Regions from separate parts of the Homo sapiens genome. Here all the other regions are linked to region 2. The links are contacts of gene promoters, found by promoter capture Hi-C in human tissues and cell types (Jung and others, 2019). All regions are on one chromosome and are shown on one strand. Each heading gives the region's core, a stretch centred on a gene start or on the middle of the fragment in contact. The rest is flanking DNA. Distances are from core to core; before and after follow the strand shown. Region 1 has its middle 55 kb from the start of TFDP3. Region 2 holds the start of TFDP3 (transcription factor Dp family member 3). Region 3 has its middle 37 kb from the start of TFDP3.

The links. Contacts are between HindIII fragments. The study calls those that stand out against the background at their distance.
Region 1: a fragment that was not itself captured here is called in contact with the fragment with the promoter of TFDP3 in region 2 in 1 of the 25 tissues and cell types used here (stomach).
Region 3: a fragment that was not itself captured here is called in contact with the fragment with the promoter of TFDP3 in region 2 in 1 of the 25 tissues and cell types used here (stomach).

Annotation. Positions count from the first base shown.
Region 1 is chrX:133,161,188-133,164,791 of GRCh38, forward strand. No RefSeq gene overlaps it. Among named protein-coding and RNA genes, the nearest start is that of TFDP3, 55 kb to the right of the region's middle. The HindIII fragment of the contact is 5,152 bases long and covers 1-3,604 here.
Region 2 is chrX:133,216,307-133,219,881 of GRCh38, forward strand. It overlaps TFDP3 (transcription factor Dp family member 3), which reads right to left and starts at 2,048. Exons shown (of 1, transcript NM_016521.3): 1 at 356-2,048. The coding sequence starts at 1,953. The coding sequence ends at 736. The HindIII fragment of the contact is 22,207 bases long and covers 1-3,575 here.
Region 3 is chrX:133,179,431-133,183,208 of GRCh38, forward strand. No RefSeq gene overlaps it. Among named protein-coding and RNA genes, the nearest start is that of TFDP3, 37 kb to the right of the region's middle. The HindIII fragment of the contact is 6,638 bases long and covers 1-3,778 here.

The sequences.
Region 1 (3,604 bases), core at 173-2,672, 56 kb before region 2:
TAAAGAAAAGAATTTTCAACCCAGAATTTCATATCCAGCCAAACTAAGCTTCACAAGCGAAGGAGAAATAAAATCCTTTACAGACAAGCACATGAGAGATTTTGTTACCACCAGGCCTGCCTTACAAGAGCTCCTAAAGGAAGCACTAAACATGGAAAGAAAAAACCAGTACCAGACACTGCAAAAACATACCAAATTGTAAAGAACATTGACACTATGAAGAAACTGCATCAACTAACTGGCAAAACAACCAGCTAGCATCATAACGACAGTATCAAATTCACACATAATAATATTAACCTTAAATGTAAATGGGCTAAATGCCCCAATTAAAAGACACTGACTGGCAAACTGGATAAAGAGTCAAGACCTATCGGTGTGCTGTATTCAGGAGACCCATCTCACATGCAAAGACACACATAGACTCAAAATAAAGGGATGGAGGAATATTTACCAAGCAAATGGAAAGCAAAACAAAACAAAACAAAACAAAAAACAAAAACATTAGTTGCAATCCTAATTTCTGATAAAAGAGACTTTAAACCAAAAAAGATCAAAAAGACAAAGAACAGAATTACATAATGCTAAAGGGATCAATGCAGCAAGAAGAGCTAACTATCATAAATGTATATGCACCCAATACAGGAGCACCCATATTCAAAAAGCAAGTTCTTAGAGACCTACAAAGAGACTTACGCTCCCACACAATTACAGTGGGAGACTTTAACACCCCACTGTCAATATTAGACAGATCAACAAGACAGAAAATTAACAAGGATATTCTGGACTTGAACTCAGCTCTGGACCAAATGGACCTAATAGACATCCACAGAACTCTCCACCTCAAATCAACAGAATATACATTCTTCTCAGCACCTCATCGCACTTATTCTAAAACTGACCACATAATTGGAAGTAAAATACTCCTCAGCAAATGCAAAAGAACAGAAATCATAACAAACAGTCTCTCAGATCACAGTGCAATCAAATTAGAACTCAGGATTAAGAAACTCACTCAAAACAGCACAACTACATGGAAACTGAACAACCTGCTCCTGAATGACTACTGGGTAAATAACAAAATTAAGGCAGAAATAAAGATGTTCTTTGAAACCAATGAGAACGAAGACACAACGAACCAGAATCTGTGGGACACATTTAAAGCAGTGTGTAGAGGGAAATTTACGGCACTAAATGCCCACAAGAGAAAGCAGGAAACATCTAAAATGGACACCCTAACATCACAATTAAAAGAACTAGAGAAGCAAGAGCAAACAAATTCAAAATCTAGCAGAAGACAAGAAATAACTAAGATCAGAGCAGAACTGAAAGAGATAGAGACACGAAAAACCCTTCAAAAAAAATTAATGAATCCAGGAGCTGGTTTTTTGAAAAGATCAACAAAAGAGATAGACCACTAGCCAGACTAATAAAGAAGAAAAGAGAGAAGAATCAAATAGATGCAATAAAAAATGATATAGGGGATATCACCACTGATCACACAGAAATACAAACTACCATCAGAGAATACTATAAACACTTCTACACAAATAAGCTAGAAAATCTACAAGAAATGGATAAATTCCTGGAAACATACACCCTTCCAAGTGTAAACCAGGAAGAAATCGAATCCCTGAATAAACCAATAACAAGTTCTGAAATTGAGGCAGTAATTAATAGCCTACCAACCAAAAAAAGTTCAGGACCAGACGGATTCACAGCTGAATTCTACCAGGGGTACAAAGAAGAGCTGATATCATTCCTTCTGAAACTATTCCAATCAATAGAAAAAGAGGGAATCCTCCCTAACTCATTTTATGAGGCCAACATCATCCTGATTCCAAAACCTGGCAGAGACACAACAAAAAAAGAAAATTTCAGGCTAATATCCTTGAAGAACATCGATGTGAATATCCTCAATAAAATACTGGCAAGCCAAATTCAGTAGCACATCAAAAAGCTTATCCAACACAATCAAGTCGGCTTCATCCCTGGGATGCAAGGCTTGTTCAACATATGCAAATCAATAAACGTAATCCATCACATAAACAGAACCAATGACAAAACCACATGATTATCTCAATAGATGCAGAAAAGGCCTTAGACAAAATTCAACACCCCTTCATGATAAAAACTCTCAATAAAGTAGGTATCGATGGAACATATCTCAAAATAATAAGAGCTATTTATGACAAACCCATAGCCAATATCATACTGAATGGGCAAAAACTGGAAGCATTCCCTTTGAAAACTGGCACAAGACAAGGATGCCCTCTCTCACCACTCCTATTCAACATAGTGTTGGAAGTTCTGACCAGGGCAGTCAGGGAATAGAAAGAAATAAAGGTATTCAAATAGGAAGAGAGGAAGTCAAATTGTCTCTGTTTGCAGAGGGCATGATTGTATGTTTAAAAAACCCCATCATCTCATCCCAAAATCTCCTTAAGCTGATAAGCAACTTCAGCAAAGTCTCGGGATACAAAATCAATGTGGAAAAATTACAAGCATTCTTACACACCAATAACAGAAAAACAGAGAGCCAAATCATGAGTGAACTCCCATTCACAATTGCTACAAAGAGAATAAAATACCTAGGAATACAATTTACAAGGGACATGAAGGACCTCTTCAAGGAGAACTACAAACCACTGCTCAAGGAAATCAGAGAGGACACAAACAAATGGAAAAACATTCCATGCTCATGGATAGGAAGAATCAATATCGTGAAAATGGCCATACTGCCCAAAGTAATTTGTAGATTCAATGTTATCCTCATCAAGCTACCATTGACTTTCTTCACAGAATTGGAAAAAACTACTTAAACTTCATATGGAACCAAAAAAGAGCCCGCATAGCCAAGAAAATCCTGGGCAAGAAGAACAAAGCTGGAGGCATCATGCTACCTGACTTCAAACTATACTACAAGGCTACAGTAACCAAAACAGCATGGTACTGGTACCAAAACAGATATATAGACCAATGGAACAGAACAGAGGCCTTGGAAATAAAATCACACATCTACAACCATCTGATCTTTGAGAAACCTGACACAAACAAGCAATGGGGAAAAGATTCCCTATATAATAAATGGTGTTGGGAAAACTGGCTAGCCATATGCAGAAAACTGAAACTGGACCCCTTCCTTATACCTTATACAAAAATCAACTCAAGATAGCTCATATTCTTAAACGTAAGACCTAGGACCATAAAAATCCTAGAAGAAAACCTGGGCAATACCATTCAGGACATAGGCATATACAAAGACTTCATATCTAAAACAACAAAAGCAATGGCAATAAAAGCCAAAATTGACACATGGGATCTAATTAAACTAAAGAGCTTCTGCACAGCAAAAGAAACTATCATCAGAGTCATCGGGGGACCTGCCCCGATAATCACGTAGGTTCTTTTCTATTTTTCCTAAGCGTCGGCTGGCTTGAGAAATAAAGGGACAGAGTACAAAAGAGAGAAATTTTAAAGCTGGGCATCCGGGGGAGACATCACACGTTGGTAGGATCCGTGATGCCCCACAAGCCACGAAAACCAGCAAGTTTTTATTAGAGATTTTCAAAAGGGGAGGGAGTGTGCGAATAGATGTGGGTGA
Region 2 (3,575 bases), core at 798-3,297:
CATATGCTTGGCACCTAGTGAAGACCTTCCTGCTGTGTCCTAACATGGCAGAATGGCAAGCAAGCATTCAAGACAGAGGAACAGGGTTGAAATTATCCTTCTATCAAGAGTCTATTCCTATTATAACAGCATTAATCCATTGATGAGGGCACAGCCCTTATGGCCTAATCACCTCTTAAAGGCCCTACCTCTTTTTTTTTAAGATTGATGGTGTTTATTGTTCTGAAAATAGAATTCTGCCGTTTGCTTGGGGCTCTGGACACTGCAAAACTGAACAAATGGAAAACTCAAGAGTCTTGCTATGCATCAGTGGGGGTGCCATCCAAATCCAAGGCAAATAAACGGCATTCGGTACTCACTGTGCACAAAAGGAGAGCATTTTATTTTCATGGATGTGGATGAAGTACAATTTCTTCAGTAAACTCAGGAAAAACTGTTAAGGGGCAACAATGAACTCTGCATTTAAAGAAAAATAGAAAATGAAAACACAAAATCCTAAAAAGTAAATAAAGATTCTGTGTCAGCACACTGGTATCAAAACACACATCAACAGCACGTCTTAATCATACGGGAAACAATCCTTGCTTATCAGAGGTGCATATCTAAATTCTATAGCTTACCAATATCTTCTTGGGAGTAGGCAAAAAAGAAACAGAAAACCTCACATTAAAAAAAAAAAAAAAGTTTCTTTTCCCTAAATGTTTTCCTGAAGCTGAATCTTAAGGCGAGAGGACGTCAGTCATCCTCGTCATTCTCACTGAGGTCGTCATCGTTGTTGTCCTCCTCCTCTTCCTCCTCGACTGCTGGGGTCTCCACCCTGGAGCCACTGTACTGAGATCCACCGGAGCTTGTGGCCAGCATCCCAATCGCAATGTTGGTCAGGTCACTGGCAGAAAGCCACGTGCCATTAGACCTGGAACCTGCCGTCGTGAACACACCTCCAAAAGTTCCCTGAGCCATTTCTGTCACGTACGGCTCCAGAGCCTTTGGGACCAAATTTCTGGCCATTTTAAGGTCTTCGGCAGAGCAGCTCCCGGACTCTAGCCCAAAAGTCATGCCCATCCACATCAGCACTTCTGTGTCATCGTGGATTTCAAAGGAGCTGTTAAACTTAAACAGATATTCTGATTTGTCGTCGGAGATGCTGCAGTTGATGACGGTCTTCTTGCTACTGCTGATGATGATGAAGGGCACGTGGATGACTGAGTTGGGCAGCGGCCGCTGGCTGACCTGCTCCTCCACATACTGGTTTCTCAGCACCAGGTTCTTGAAAGCAATTTGCTGTAGAATAAGTTGTTGAAGTTCAGACTGTTTCTGCTTTATTCTTTCAAGTCTCTTCTGTCTTTCCACCCGTAAGTTCTGACAGTTCTGAGCCGAGTTGGTGGTCAGACCAATCCACTTGATCTTCTTTTTCTCCCTGGAGATGATATTCATGGCCATCAGCACGTTTAAGGCATCGTAGGTGCGCCGTTTTATGTTTTTCACGTCATAAGCTGACTCGTTTGGTGAGGCGTGGTTGCTGGCAGCTCTGAACTTGGCGACCAGCTCGCCCACCACTTCCTGGCAGGAAGTGGTCCCTTTCCTCTGCACCGTCTCCCAGACCTTCATGGAAAGACGGCACAGGCCCATGCCATTCTTCTCTCCTTTCCTGTTGTGCTGCCCGGCCCAAGGAGGTGAGGAGTAGGAATGCTGGTTCTGAGAGGCAAAGTGAGTGCTGGGTGGGTTTGGGCTTCCTACCACAGGGATGTTTGATGCTGCTGGTCTCTGAGGCATACCAATTACCACTTGCTGGTCAATGTTGACACTGGACTGTCCAAAGGTTTTCGGCAAGAGCTGCTTCCCGAGCGGGTTCACGGTGGAGGTGTGAACGGCCACGGGGCGGCTGGTCTGGTTCTCGTCCATTAAGACCTTGAGTTCTTCGTTAGCTTCAGTGAGACTGACATATTTTGCCATGTTAACAGATTTGGGAAATAAATGCTATAAATGTTCACCTTTCCAGAGAAGAAAAACAATTCTTCCAGGCCGAGTGTAGGGCTGCCGTGAGGTGCGTGGCGTAACGTGCGTGGCGTAACGTGCGTGGCGTAACGTGCGTGGCGTAACGTGCGTGGCGTAACGTGCGTGGCGTAACGTGCGTGGCGTAACGTGCGTGGCATAATGTGTGTGGCGTGTGGTACGTGGTGTGTGGTACGTGGCGTGTGGTACGTGGTGTGCAGTACGTGGCGTGTGGTACCTGGCGTAACATGCGCCACGTGAGGTGCGCAGCAGCAGGGGGGCGGTCCGTGCAGTGCGCCTGCGTGCCTTTTCACGCCTTCAGCCTTTCCTCCTCTGGCCCTACCTCTTAATACTGTTACAATGGTAATTAAGTTTCCAACACATGAACTTTTGGAGGACACATTTAAACCATAGCACATCCTAAAGGGACTGATGAAAATCAGACGTGTAGGCCTCTGCAGGCCCGTCTATCATTTCTTCTCAGCCATTGTCTCACAAGAAGCTGGATCTGGGCTCTTGCAAGGATTATTTCTTCACCTGCTGGTCAAGAAGCTTATTGTGGAAGAATCCAGTTTTTGTCTCTCTACCCAAACAGCTACACTAAGCCTTCCTGAGTAGATAGAGATGGGAAAAAGGAGTTAACAATATACAGTATCATTTATTTGTTGGGCTGTGGTACAATCAATAGACTAAGTCCACAGCCTACACCTCACTTTGGAAGCTACACACATTGCCAATGAGAAAGAAATCTAAAGAGAGAACAAGACAAAGCCCAGCAGAAGCAGAGGCCTGTGGCAGTCTCTTTCTCCCACCGTTGGTCTCAACTCTGCCTTACTCACCAAAAGTCCTAATAACCATGCCACACAGGCTCTGTGTCTTCAGGCCTGCTTCTCTAGTCCACACCAACTTCCTCTAGCACCTCGACTCTGGAAATAATGCATGTGATTGCACACAAGCATACACCTCAGCCTCAGATACACAGAGGTGCTGTCTCACTCACCTCGGGCTGCCGTAACAAAACACCATAGACTGGGTGGCTGAAACAATAGACATTTATTTTCTCACAGTTCTGGAGGCTAGAAGTCCAAGATCAAGTTTCCAGCAGGGTTGGTTTCTGGTGAGGGCTCACTTCCTGGCTTTCAGATGTCTGCCTTCTCACTGTGTCCTCACATGGCAGCAGGGCTTGGAGAGATCTCTTTTGACAAGGACACATCCTATCCTATTTGGGACCCACCCTTATGACCTCATTTAACCTTAATTACCTCCTAAAGACCCTATCTCCAGATACAGTCAAATTGGGGGTTAGGGCATCAACATATGAGTTTTAGTGGGTAGGGGGACAAAATTCAGTCTATAGCATTTGCTAAACAGAACCAGAGCTGGACAGTAGTGAAAGAGTAGTGAAATTGGGGGTTAGGAGTTCAACATATGAATTTTATTGGGTAGGGGGACAAAATTCAGTCTATAGCATTTGCCTAACAGAACCAGAGCTGGACAGTAATAAAAGAGGTAAAACAGATATTATTCAGGAACTATGGCAATGGGGCAAAAAGACCTCAGGATAGAACTGGGCTCAATTCTTT
Region 3 (3,778 bases), core at 1,256-3,755, 36 kb before region 2:
TTCCCTTTTGCTTGTATGCTGCACTTTGACTCCCTATAAAAGCACCTAGCTTTGTTCTCCCTCTCCCCCACCCCCCTACCCCGTCCCCCTTCCACTCCTACCGGCTTGGTTGAGTCCACTCCATTGGTACTCCTCCCATATGGTCCTCTGCATGGCGTGCCTCCCTCTCTAGGACCTGTGAGTATAATAAATGCTTTAATTTCAGATGTCTCTCTGAGTGCAATTTCTATGGCCCTGTTGGAGTGATCCTTAAAGACCCCACAAGGGGGCTTACTCCCCCATTTACAACACAGTCATCAATTCAGCAATTGGTTTCTAAGAATAAGCTTTAAAGTCAGACAGATTTGGGTTTCAACCAGGCTCCAATATTTCACCAGCTGTATGACATTTTGTTCAAGTCTCTTGACCTCTTTGGGCTTTGTTTCTTTCATCTGTCAGTCTCCCTCACAAAGTTGTAGGGATCTTAAGGCTTAATGAGATTATATCTATAAAGTCTTTAGAACAAAGTCTGGCATATACTAAATGCTCAATAAACACTAACATCTCTAATTTCCAAGAAGGTACCCCAGATAGAGAATATTTCCCACTGAAAGAAATTAAATTATTTTACCCCCAAAATATATTTCTTTGACATATTTTGAAAGGGCTGCTGCTTAGCCATCTTGACAAAAGTGGCCTTACAAAGCTTTGTAAGGCCCCTTCTTTCCCCACTTAACACAGCTTCTTAAGAGGGGAAAATTTGTATCTGTAGAGAATCCCCATTAATACAGCCATGCCCCCTCCCCTCTCTATGCCTTGCCCCAGATCCAGGGAGAAATTGAAGGTCTGACCCCTTTAAAAGTCTGAAAAGAAACGGATACGGTTTGGATCTGTGTCCCCACCAATCTCATGTCAAATAGTATTCCCCAGTGTTGGGGGTGAGACCTGGTGGGAGGTGAATGGATCTTGGGGGCGGATTTCTCATGAATGGTTTAGCACTATCACCCGGTACTGCCTTCATGATAGCGAATGAGCAAGTTATCCTGAGACGTGGTGGTTTAAAAGTATGTAGCACCCCCCCAGCCTTGCTCTCTTGCTTCTGCTCTTGCCCTGGGAGATACTTCACTCACCCTTTGCCCTCCACCATGATTGGAAGTTCCCTGAGGCCTCCCCAGAAGCAGAAGCTGCTATGCCTCCTGAACAGCCTATAGAACGGTGAGCCAACTAAATCTCTTTCCTTTGTAAATTACCCCGTCTCAGGTATTTCTTTATAGCAGTGCGAGAACAGACTAATACAGAAATATTTACCATTTATGCTCTCAAGAGAGGCTTCATCTACATAACAAGGCTACCTTTGCTAGCCAAGCCTCTTCTCTCTCTCCTATAACTTGTTTTTACCAGAATCGAAGCCCCAACTCTTTCTGTAACCTCAAAATGGTATATAAGTTTCTGTGACTCATTGAGAAGTTGGGTCTTCATCCTGAGGGCTTCCATATATGCATGTTAAATAAATTTGTATACTTTTTCTCCTATTAACCAATCCACCCCATTTCAGTGATTTTTTGAGAATCTTTCAGGGGCCCAGAGCCTATAGCCCCCAGACCACACAATACTGATGTTTCCACTGTAAGAAATTCATGAATCTGGACTAATGGTTATCCCCTCCAAGTATTCCCTTTGGTCATTTTCATTATCAGGCTTCAAAATCAAGGGGGTTGGTGAGCAATGGCCATGGAATAATAGCCTGGATATGGCAGAAGAGAATGATGAACCCCACCTCTTTCATGCCCTGTGAAATTGAAAAGGTAAGGAAAGGAGAGGGTTTTGTTTGCAGTGAATGTGTTCCATGGAGAGGCAGAAACAGGAGAAAATCAACCATCTTTGAGTTAGAGTGAACAGGAAGTGTGAGGATTCCAGGCCTTCCTCTCCATCTCTATTAATACTTCTGGGAAAATAAAAGTAGGCTGTTATATCCATTGGAGAGCCACACACCCAAAGAATAAAATTCTCCAGGAGAACCTGAAATGATAAATAGGGGAGCTTTTGTGCCTTCTCTAAGCTAAGGGACATTTAACAACAGAAGGCCATTAGTTAAGTTTTGTGGTTGAGGATGTGGGCCCAGGAACAAAACTGCCTGAGTTTTGACCTCTTTGCTAGTTATAAACCAGAGGACTTTGGACAATACATTTAGTGTCTGTGCCTCCATTTCCTCACCTTTGAAATGAGAGAGATGTGATAGTGCATAGGACACTTGTGAGTATTAAGTGTCTTATAACATTCTAAGTGCCTAATAGAGTGTCCAGCACTTAGTAAGTGCTCAATTAATGGTAGCTGTTAGTACTGTTACCATAGCAGACCAAAGTGTAAAAAGCAATTTTGTTTGAGAAACAGAAATGATTTCACATAACTGCTTTTAAAATTAAGAGTTGAAACCATAAATTCTAGTTACAAGTGATAAAAAGCTTTCTTACATTTCATATTACGGACACATGGGGTAGGAGACAGCAGAGGGGATAAAATCAATCTGGAAGGAGAACCAGAGAGAACAGCCAAGACAGACAGCAAGGAAAGGAGGAGACAGAAAGGGAGTCGTGTGATGAGCAGGTGCTGGGTGTGCGAGTTACCATCACCTCCTGTTTCCCTGAACTCTGGACTTCAGAGGAAGTTGTCACCACCTTTTGAAATACATTGCGTTTTTTGGCTCTTAGAAGTAGTTTTTCTGCCTTTTTTCTAAATCTCAACATTAAGTTCTGAAATAAAATTATTTTTTTCATGAAAGGATGAGGGTTTTATACCTGCACACAGGTGAAGGGATGACTTGGGGTTTAGACGTGTTCTTTAGAAGGTGAAAAATATCAGCAAATTGACAAACTCCATCTGGAAGTCCTTTGGCCATGAAAGCTGTCAGAATAACTCCGATCTGTTCTTTGAGGCTGTCTCACTTGTGTTCATAAGTTTACATGTAGAACACTATGGACCTCTCAAGTTCTTCTGTCCCTAGGAGCAAAGGCAGAGGTGGGCTCCACAGGTCAGAGGTTCTTCCCCTGTTCTGAGCCTCAAACCAGAACATTGCAAAACAACTGGCCACCCTGGGAATATGAATCATTTTAGTGCTTTCCGCCTTTTTTTTTTTTTTGAGACAGAGTCTTGCTCTGTCACCCAGGCTGGAGTGCAATGGTGCAATCTCAGCTCACTGCAACCTCTGCCTCCCGGGATCAAGCAAATCTCCTGCCTCAGCCTCCAGAGTAGCTGGGATTACATGCACCTGCCACCACACCCAGCTAACTTTTGTATTTTTAGTAGAGACGGGGTTTCACTATGTTGCCCAGGCTGGTCTCGAACTCCTGACCGCAAGTGATCCACCTGCCTCGGCCTCCAAAATGCAGGGGTTACAGGCATGAGCCACCATGCCTGGCCCTGCTTTCTGCCTTCTAACTTGTTTTGAGGTTTGGAATCTGTGCTGGGTAGGGGTAGGGGGTTGCTAGATCCCCTCTGGGCTTATTCTGCTAGGCCAGAGGCAGCTAGGACTTTGGGTCCTCATGAAATTCTTCCCAAGTCTGTAACACTACGACTGACAATCTAGCTTAGGGGCTGGCAAAGTTTTTCTGTAAAAAGCCAGCTAGTCAATGTTTAGGTTTGTGGGACATACAGGTCCCTTCACAATTAATCAACTCTACTGTTGGAGTACAAGAGTAGTCATAGACAATATGTAAATGAATAACTGTGGCTGTGTTCTGATAAAATTTTATGGCCACTGACATTTTAATTTTACATAACTGTCATGTTTAACAAAATAGTC